Linked DNA regions of Homo sapiens: region 2 is linked to region 1. Evidence: promoter capture Hi-C in human tissues and cell types (Jung and others, 2019). All regions are on one chromosome and are shown on one strand. The core of a region is centred on a gene start or on the middle of the fragment in contact, and the rest is flanking DNA. Distances in the headings are between cores, read along the strand shown.

The links. Contacts are between HindIII fragments. The study calls those that stand out against the background at their distance.
Region 2: a contact is called between a fragment that was not itself captured here and the fragment with the promoter of CNTFR in region 1, in 2 of the 25 tissues and cell types used here (dorsolateral prefrontal cortex and mesenchymal stem cells).

The regions. Positions count from the first base shown.
Region 1 is chr9:34,586,865-34,591,343 of GRCh38, reverse strand. CNTFR (ciliary neurotrophic factor receptor) reads left to right here and starts at 1,620. Exons shown (of 10, transcript NM_147164.3): 1 at 1,620-1,789. The HindIII fragment of the contact is 8,661 bases long and covers 539-4,479 here.
Region 2 is chr9:34,462,303-34,467,114 of GRCh38, reverse strand. The region is part of intron 1 of DNAI1 (dynein axonemal intermediate chain 1); the gene reads right to left. Among named protein-coding and RNA genes, the nearest start is that of DNAI1, 5.9 kb to the right of the region's middle. The HindIII fragment of the contact is 7,861 bases long and covers 1-4,812 here.

The DNA.
Region 1 (4,479 bases), core at 371-2,870:
TCCACAGTCTAATCCCGGTCTGCGGCACGGGAAGCAGGAGGCCGGCGGCCCAGAGAGCCCGGGGAGAGGACACCTTGTGTGGGCGGCTGTGCGCTGACCCTCAGCGGGGCGCAGCTAGTTTGCTGTGTGTCCTGAAGTCCTAGCTGGCCGTCTCTGAGCTCCAGCCCATGCCGACCCCTGCCAGTTGTAGGAAGGGGATTCTGTGGCCACGGAAGTGAAAGTGAAAAGCCCAGGCCGTGGCGGGAAGAAGGATTTTCCTCTGCAGTGGGAGTCCCTGAGGCATTTGTTGGGAAAGGGCCCGGGCGCTCTAGGCAGCCTACTGGGGAAGGATGTGAGGAAACATGGAGACATTTCCCTCCCTTCTCCTCGCCCTCAGCCCTAGAGCAGCTCCCCGGAGGGGCAGGGCCCAGGATTATGGGTCAAGGGTCAGGTGACAAATCCAAGGGGTGGAGACGGGGGTGGCTTTCTCGGTCTCTGCCTCTGCCATTGCCACTCCATTGCGCTTTCACGTGGCCTCAGAAGTTGGTCAGGTTGTCCAACCTTACTCTCCTATGTTGCAGCCAGACCGGAGGCCCAGGGACGAGTGCAGTGAACACCCCGGCCCCTCAGAGGCCCAGGCTGCGAAGGGAGTGAGCCTCCTATCGAGGGGTGCGCCTGTGCCCGGCATTGAGAGTGCACCCTCCCTACCCCTTCATTCCAGTGGAGGCTTCTCCCCCGGCTGTGTGTCCTCGGGGCGCGAGGAACATGCGAGTAGTGGTGTTGGTGTCATCGGAGACACTGGAGGCATGGGCCTGGGCTCCCGGCAGGGTCCATCCCCGGTCAAGGAAGCCCCTTTCCCCCGCGCGAGGGGGTGACCGGGAGGGGAGTCGTTGCGGGGGGCAGTAGCAATAGGGGAGAGGCGGAGCCGGCTGGCTTCTTCTGCCCAAAGTGGGGGTTGGGGGTTCTGGCTCGCGTTCCTCTCACGGCGACGCCGGAGGGAGGACCCCGAGAGTTGGCCCGGGGTGTGCCAGGGAGTCGGTGCGAGGCCGTCAGGGCCTGAACGTGCGGGAGTGTGCGCAGGAGAGACCTGGCTAAGGCCGAGAGGGAGAGTGAGTGTGAAGGAGCGATCCCGGGGGTGAGTGCGCGCCCAGCCGCCCTAGGGGAGCGGGCCGAGTGGGTGTGTGTGTGTGTGTGTGTGCGCGCGCGCGTTTGCGAGACCCGCGGCCGGGGCTGCGCGTGAAGCACGGGGACCACAGCCGTCTTGAGGGCGCGCCCGAGAAAGGGTGAACGCGAGGGGGCCACGCGTGCCAGTGCGGACGAGTGTGCCAGCGGGGGGGCAGAGCGCGTGCCAGTGCTGGGCGAGTGGGAGTGGGGGCTCACAGGCCCGCGCAGGGCGAGCGGACCGCGTGTGCCAGGAGCGAGAGCGTGCCAAGGCGGGGGCGCGCGGGGCCCGTGGCGGGGAGGGGTCGTGGCGCGCGGCCGCGGAGGCGCGGGGAGACAAGGCAAGAGGGGGAGGGGAGCGAGGGCGCGCGCGGCCGAGCGGGCGCCCGCGGTCACATGGGCGAGAGAAGGAGGGAGGGAGCGCGCGAGGGAGGGAGGAGGATGGGGGGGTTAAAGCCGCCGAGCGCTGAAGAGCCGGTGCAGAGCGGGCGGCGGCGGCGGCGGCAGCGGAGGCGGCGGCTCCAGCCGGCGCGGCGCGAGGCTCGGCGGTGGGATCCGGCGGGCGGTGCTAGCTCCGCGCTCCCTGCCTCGCTCGCTGCCGGGGGCGGTCGGAAGGCGCGGCGCGAAGCCCGGGTGGCCCGAGGGCGCGGTGAGTACCCTGCGGCGGAGTGCGCGCGGCCGGACCCTCAGAGCCCGGGCTGACCAGCAGACCGGCGGCCCTCATGCGTGCGGGAAGAGTGAGGGGACACCCGTGGGCCCACGGACGGGGGCGACAGGAAAGTTCACGAGAAACTTTGCCTGCAAACTCGGGGGCGGGGGCGCTGGAGGAGCGGCCCCCCACGTCCGGGCGCTCCGGGGGTTGGGCGTGGTGGTGGTGGTGGGGCCGACTGTGGACTAGAGGGAGGTGGCTCCGGCGGTTTGTCCTAGTGTCCCTGTTCTCCCCACCCCTCAGCTGCACGCGCGGGGTCTGGAAAAATTCCTGGGTTTGGGGAGGTTCGTAGTGGCCTTTGCGCGCCCAAAGGTGGCTTCTTTCTCGGGCAGAAATCTGGACTTCAAAGCGCCCGGGGATGCGAACCGACGGTTGCGCGTCTGCCAGTGCATGTGTGTCCGTGTGAATCCGCGCGCCCGCGCGCGCGTGTGTGTGTGCATGTGTGTGTCGGTCGGCGTCCCCATGGTTTTCTCTTCAGTCCGCCTGGATGTATCTCCATGTAGTGGGTCTCCTCCAGTGTGTCTCTTTGTAAGTCTTCCTGGCTTGTGCGAGTCTGCCTATGGTGTATCCCCAAGTGTCTCTTTGTGAGTCTGCTCGTGTGTGTCTCCTCCAGTGCGGCTCAGTGTGAGCCAGTCTGGGTGTCCCTGTGTTGCTCCGAGTAGTGTATCTCCGCGTGCGTGGGGGCTGGGCCGTGGGGAGGTCACCAGACGGACAGCTCTCCCTCTCGGCTCCTCTCCTCTCCCGAGCCTCTCCTCCAGCGTTAGCTCGCTCGCTTGCTCGCTCCCTTGTCCCCCTCCCCCCTCCAGTAGCTTCAGGCGGGCAGGACTATTTCACGCCTTGTTGAAAATTCAGGATTTTCTTTCTTTCCGTCTAGTCTCTCTTTTTGAGAAGCGTCTGTGTGTGTCTGTGTGCCTGGCAGCTTGTCTGCAACATTGGGTGTGTGTCTGCATGCCGCTGTAGGAGTGTGTCTCTAACACTAGTTGTTCTGCCTGTAATACTTGGTGAATTTGTGTCTGTGTCACTGGGAGTGTTTGTGTGGCTGTGGTCACTGAGGTGGTGCGAGTGTGAAATGCTGGGTGTGTCTGTGCATCTGTAATTGCTGTGTGTCCGAGGGGCCTGAAACACCAGGTGTATTTTTGTGTATCTAACTCTGGGTGTGATGGTGTGTCATTACACGTGTGGGAATGGGGCTTGAACCATTGCAGATTCCCAGGGATGTAGGGCTAGCAATGACTTGGGGGCTAGAAGGGCCTAGGTGTCTCAAACTATGCCTCTCTGTCTCCACTGTCACAACCCACACAAATCCTCTCAGCTGGTGCCAGGGGCTCCTGGTCAGCATTGGTGAGATAGAGCTAAGGTTCACACTGTCAGGGCTGATACTCCAACTGAGACCCTGAGCCTACACAAAGACTAGGAGTTTAAAGTTCATGCACAGGACTTCTGGGGGCTCTGGAATCCATACTCAGATGCACACTGGGACACTTCAGCTCCTTCTAGGGTCTAGGGGCTTACATTCATATGGACTGACACTTACGTTGTGGGGCTCATATCCAGGGATACACTTCAGTCCTGGAGTTTCCACATAGACTCACATTGGAACTCTGCTCACACTGGGACCCACACTGGGACTGTAGGCTCATGCTTAGATTCACGGTCTTACCCTTTAGCTTAGATCTACATTGAGACCTAGAGCTCACACCCAGAATCTCACTGGGGTCCTAGGGCTCACACTGGGGCTCACACAAAGACCCTCATGCTCACTCCGATTCACACTTATATTCTGGGACTCCGAGTTAGTCAGACTCGCATGGGGAACATGGGGCTCACATTTGAACTCAAGGACTCGCTGAGGACACTGGGGTTCATAGTCAGATTCACATTTCCAAGCTGGGGATCACATTGACTCACACGGGGACCCTGGAGCTCACTCAGATTCACACTAGGACCTTTGGGTTCACACTTAGATTCATATGGGAACTTTGGGGGTTAGACCTCCATGGGTAACCTGGAGCTCACACATAGACTCATACCAGGATCTTGGTAGGACTCACTTGAAGTCCTGTGACTCACTCAGATTCATATTGGGATCTCAGAGCTCACACTCAGACTCACAGTAGGATTCTGATGTTCACACTTAGACTTACAAGGGTACTTTGGGACTCACACTCAGACTTAAAAAGGGATACCAGTGCTCACACTAGGACTCCATATAAGCCACCTTAGCTCATACTCAGAAGCCCTTATGACCAGGGTCTCACACTCAGACTTACACTAGAACTCTAATGCTTATGCTGACTTGTACAGGAATGCTGGGACTCACAGGCTCTCTCACTTCAGTCCTGGAGCTCACATTCAGACCCACTGGGGTTTACAGTCAGATGCGTGCTGAGACCTGGGCTCATACTCAAACCCGTACTTGCATCTTGGAGTTCACACTTAGATGGACATTAGACCGTGACACTTAGATTAAACTCACACTGTCATCCTGGGCTCACATTCAGATCCACACTAAGATTGTGGCATTCACAATCCCAGTGGAACTTAGGACTCATGGTCAGATATGCCCATGCTTTCCTTTGGTTTGTGGTGAGTATCGGGGCACTTGAAGTGAAGAACAGAGACTGCTACAG
Region 2 (4,812 bases), core at 15-2,514, 120 kb after region 1:
TACTTTAGAGTAAAGCGAGTTATATCTTCCACTGGAGGAGCTGAGCAAAGAGAATACCTCCTTCTAGCTTTGGTTGCTTAAAGAGCCATAGGATCTTGTCCCTTGCTGACATTGCCTAGCATGAACAGATGAGCTAGGGTCAATCAGATTCCCTCCTTAAGAATTTGAACTAGGACTACAGGGAGAACCAGCAGTTGGATGGAGATATTCATGGAAATGTTTGTGAGGTAGAGAGGTCAGAACAGTTATGATAAGCTGGAAACAGACTAAAATTATGAGGGAGCGGAGACCATGGAAATCTGGCCAGTTGGGAAATAAGAATAAGAATGAAACATAGTTGTTAAGAGAAATAGAGAGGCTGTGAGAGATGTGGAGAAAGTAGTTGGTCCCTATACCTGTTTCAGAATTAATTGTTTTCCAATTTCAATTCTAGGTTATCTATGTACTTATAATAACCATCTGTAACTCCCCACATATATACCTTCTCCCTTCTCTCATCCTCTTTTATCTGAGGTAACTTGAGTGAGCCTCTGTTCTTTGTAACTTAAAGAGCTTAACTAAAGTAATGTGTCTTAGAGTTTGCCAGGTCTGTAAAGGGCAGAAAGAGAAGAGAAGACTTGGGCATTCCATGCAGAGGGAACAAAATAATTAACAAAGACACAGAGGCACAGAAGCAGATGACTCTCCAAGGAGCAGCAGATTATTTTGTCCATATACACTCCAGTTTGTTCCCAAATAAGATTTGAGGCTGAATACATGACACATTGAGAAAATAAGTAAATGAGCAAATGGATGTGATGTAAGAATAAAAGTAGAAAAATAAGCTTAACATTAGGGGTAGGGTCCCTACATAATTAATAGGATTAGGCTGCTTTAACTAGGATAAAGGAGGCATGAATTGCTTCTTCTGCAGGCCAAGAAAGAAAAGTTAGTGTTCAGAGTAGTGCAGTACATACCTTCCCATCACTCATTTATTCACTCATCAACTAACTCATTCAGTCATTATTCATTCATTCAGCATTTATTAAGCATCTACTATGTGCCAGGTCCTCGGATGACGGCTAAAGAGGAACCAAGATTGAGTTGGTTCTCACACCCAGGGTTCTCAATCTAGGAGGTGAGATAAATGGAGGACATAAATCCACCATACAAACCAGAATCCAGTGACTCTATGAGTAGGACAAAGCGTTGTGAGACTCAAACCAGTGAAACTAAAGTTACAACAGCTGTGTCCTTTGCTTGCTTCTTGCATACAACTCTGTCAGTGCTCAGTGACTGCAAAGATTGAACACTTGATACAAATTCCTAACTGGCAGAAAACAATTTCATGTGGCTTGCTCACAGCTGGAGCCAGAGAGTCAACATTACTCCTCAGCATCAACTTGCAGGCTGCAAAGCCCAGCAACGAGCACAGGAGCCCTCTGCCATTATTATTTGAGTACCTGGCATGTACTGAGTGCTAACAATGTGCTAGGCCCCCTAGTACACAGGGGAGGAAAACAAATTCTGGCCTCAAATGCTCACAGCTGTTTTGTAATCTGATAATTGTGCATGACAAACCTCAGACCATAACTCTGAAAATAGCATGACTATAATCATAACAAAATGGAACTGCCATTGGCAAAAATTGTTTTCTAGTTATCACTTCCAGAAGGAATTCCATTAACACAACTAGGGGAAAAGAAGAAAAAACTGTCTCAGCTTTCTGCTGCTAAACCTCAAAATTATCATCAACTGCATCCATCCCTTCTCCTGTCCTGTTACAAAGTGTGCCTCCTCCTGTCCACAACATCATCTCCTCAGAGACTTGGCTCTAGTCATTATTTAATCTTTCTCCTTTATCTTCAACTTCTCTCTCCGTTCAGGATCCTTCCCCTCAGCATTTAATATATTCAAGTCTGTCATCTTAAAAAAACAATCTTTGCCTACATAGTTCTTACTGCCTTCTTAGCTCAATTCAGTTTAGCTTTTCACTCTGAAATTGTCCTTTCCAAGGTCCCCAATAACTTCCAAGTTATTAAATCTAATAGTTATATCTTAGTGTTTATCTTCATTGACACCTTAGCAACATGCAACTTGGCTGACCATACAGTTTCACTGAAACACATTCTTCCTTTGGCTTCTGGGATATTATTTTTCCTTGTTGTCTTCTTACTTCTCTGATTACTCCTTCTTATTCTCCATTTTGGACTCTTCTTCTTCTATCCAAACCTTAAATACTGGTGGTCCCCCCAGAAGTCTTCCCTAATTCCCCCAGAATCAGAATGAAGACCCCCTACCACATGCTTCCATAGAACCCTGTGCTACTTCCCCAACCACAGTTGATCACTCATTCAACATTCATCAAGAGCTTCTGACGTCATCATGGCCACTGTTTTAGGGGCTGAGAATACAGATATAAGCAAAAACATCCACAGGCCCTGCTCCCAAGGAGCTCACAGTCTAATGGGGGAGACATACAATAATCAAATAATTACACAAATAAGTGAATAATTACAAACCGTGATGCATGCTATGGAAGAAAGGAACACAGAGCAATGAGACTATATAACAGAGGAAACTTACCCTACCTTCCATAACGGGGCAGGGGGCATTGGGGGCAGGTTGTGGGGATTGATTTGGGGGCTGAAATCTTAGGAGTGAGTACATGTGTGAGGGAGGGTGTGAAAAGCATTCCAGAAAGGGGGCAGCACATAGAACTAAGGTACAGCAATAATGGAGAAGAGTGGTACAAATTAAGGTATAGAGACCCAGGTAGGTCTCAGGCCCATTCAGGTCTCTGGAGCGATTGTCTAAAAATCTGGTCCCTATCCTAAGAGCAATGGGAAGTCACTGAAGTGTTCTGAGTGGGGGATGGCACAATCAGATTGACAGTTTGAAAAGATCACTTTTCATGCAGTGTAGAGAATGGACTGGAAAGGGCACGAGTGAATGAGGGAAGACTAGTTACTAGGCTTTTACAGCACTCTTTGGTGAGAGACGATTGTAAGCTGGGCTAGGGAGGTGGCAGTGTATATGAAAAAAAGTAGTTTAATTTGAGAGATATTTAAGAGGTAAGGGAGTAAAAGATCATATCTAGGGCTTAAGGAATATATGTGTAAGAATGACACTGAGGTCACAGGAGTGAAGCTATCTTACTTTGGACATACAGAAACACATCAACTTCCCCTACATTCTGTTCACCTCCTATCTTTTCATCTGTGGATACCAGGCCCCATCACCAGGCTCAAAATCTCTGAATCATCCAAGACTCTCTTCTGGCCTTATGCCCAACCCTGCCCACTCACTCCTACCTTAGTCACCCCTAATCTAGATCAATATTTCTAAAAGTATTGCACCATAGGAGCCTCTTGAGAGACCACAAAATGATCCAAAATGAAAGTCTTTTCTTTGGCTTTTACAGGAGAATGATGTAAAATTCCAGACTTTGATTTTTTTTTTATGGTAACCAACTGAGTTATAAAGAGGTACTAAAATTTGTTAGTCATAAACTAAAATTAGCTTTTAACTGGAGTTCACAGAAGATTCTAATTCGGTTTTCTACTAAGAAGTTTAGCTGCCAGGCAATGTTTGGCAACGCTGCAAAGCTCCTCCTGTACATGTATACATGCAGCCAGTTGGCACTCTCACAATTTTCAGGAAGGACGCTTTGCTATTGGGGCATTACCAGTGATGTTTTGAGCTGGTCATGGTTTATGGTTCCTGACATTCAAGCATTTTAATTACAAATTATGATTTATGGAGCTCCATAATGACCAATTTAATATGCCATGGGTTATTTGATTAACTCTATAGGGTAGGGGAAGGTACCTCTTTGACCTTATCTCCTGCCACATTCCCCACTCCCTTCCTTGCTGATCCAGAACATGTGTAGCAGGCTCCCATCTCAGGGACTTTATACTTGCTATGCCGTCTGTCTGGAATGCCTCCCCTATCCCCATCCCTTCACCCCACACCCTACCCCCGGGTATTGCATAGCTCTTTCATTTCCTTCAGGTCTTTGCTCATATGCCACCTCTGTAACACCTTCCCTGTCCATCCTATTTAAATGATAATCTTGTGATTCCCTGAACTTCTTAGTCTACTTCTCTGATTTAGTTTTCTTCTTGGCATCTATCACCATCTAATATACTATATATTTTACAAATTTATTTATTGCCACTTTACCTCCAACTAAAAAATAAGCTCCATGAGAGCAGGGATTTTTGTTTGTTTTGTTTCTTGCTATATCACCAATACCTAGAACAGTACCTAACACAGAGTGGGTACGATAAATAATTACTGCATGAATATTTACACATCAATATTTTTATCTCTTAGTCTCCAAAACCCATTTCTTAAGGCATGGATACTTGTGGTTCAAATTTGAATCATTCATAGCCCTACTGCCAAAGCAGATACAAACATGTACCTGGAAAACCATACTTACACAGTTACATTTCCTTGTTATAATTCCCCACAAGTCTCCCCATCCCAGCTTCACCCCTTCCCATCCTTCGAACACATTCAGATGATAATTTCCAAGAACAACTTAGGGCATTCAGAATTCATATTGAACTCATTTTCTTAGAATTTAATATATTCCAGGTATTGTGCTAGGTAGAGGGGAATCAACAATGAACAAGACAGACATGATCCTTACCATAACATAGTTTATAGTCTAGAGGGGATATCACCCTATCCTGCCTCCAGAAAGGGGACTTAATCCTTTGTAGAAGAATATGAGGGCCAAGCTTAGACCCGAAATATGAATAGGATATGAAGGAAAGATTTGGGGTAGGGTGGAGTAGACTAGTAGACACAGACAGAAAA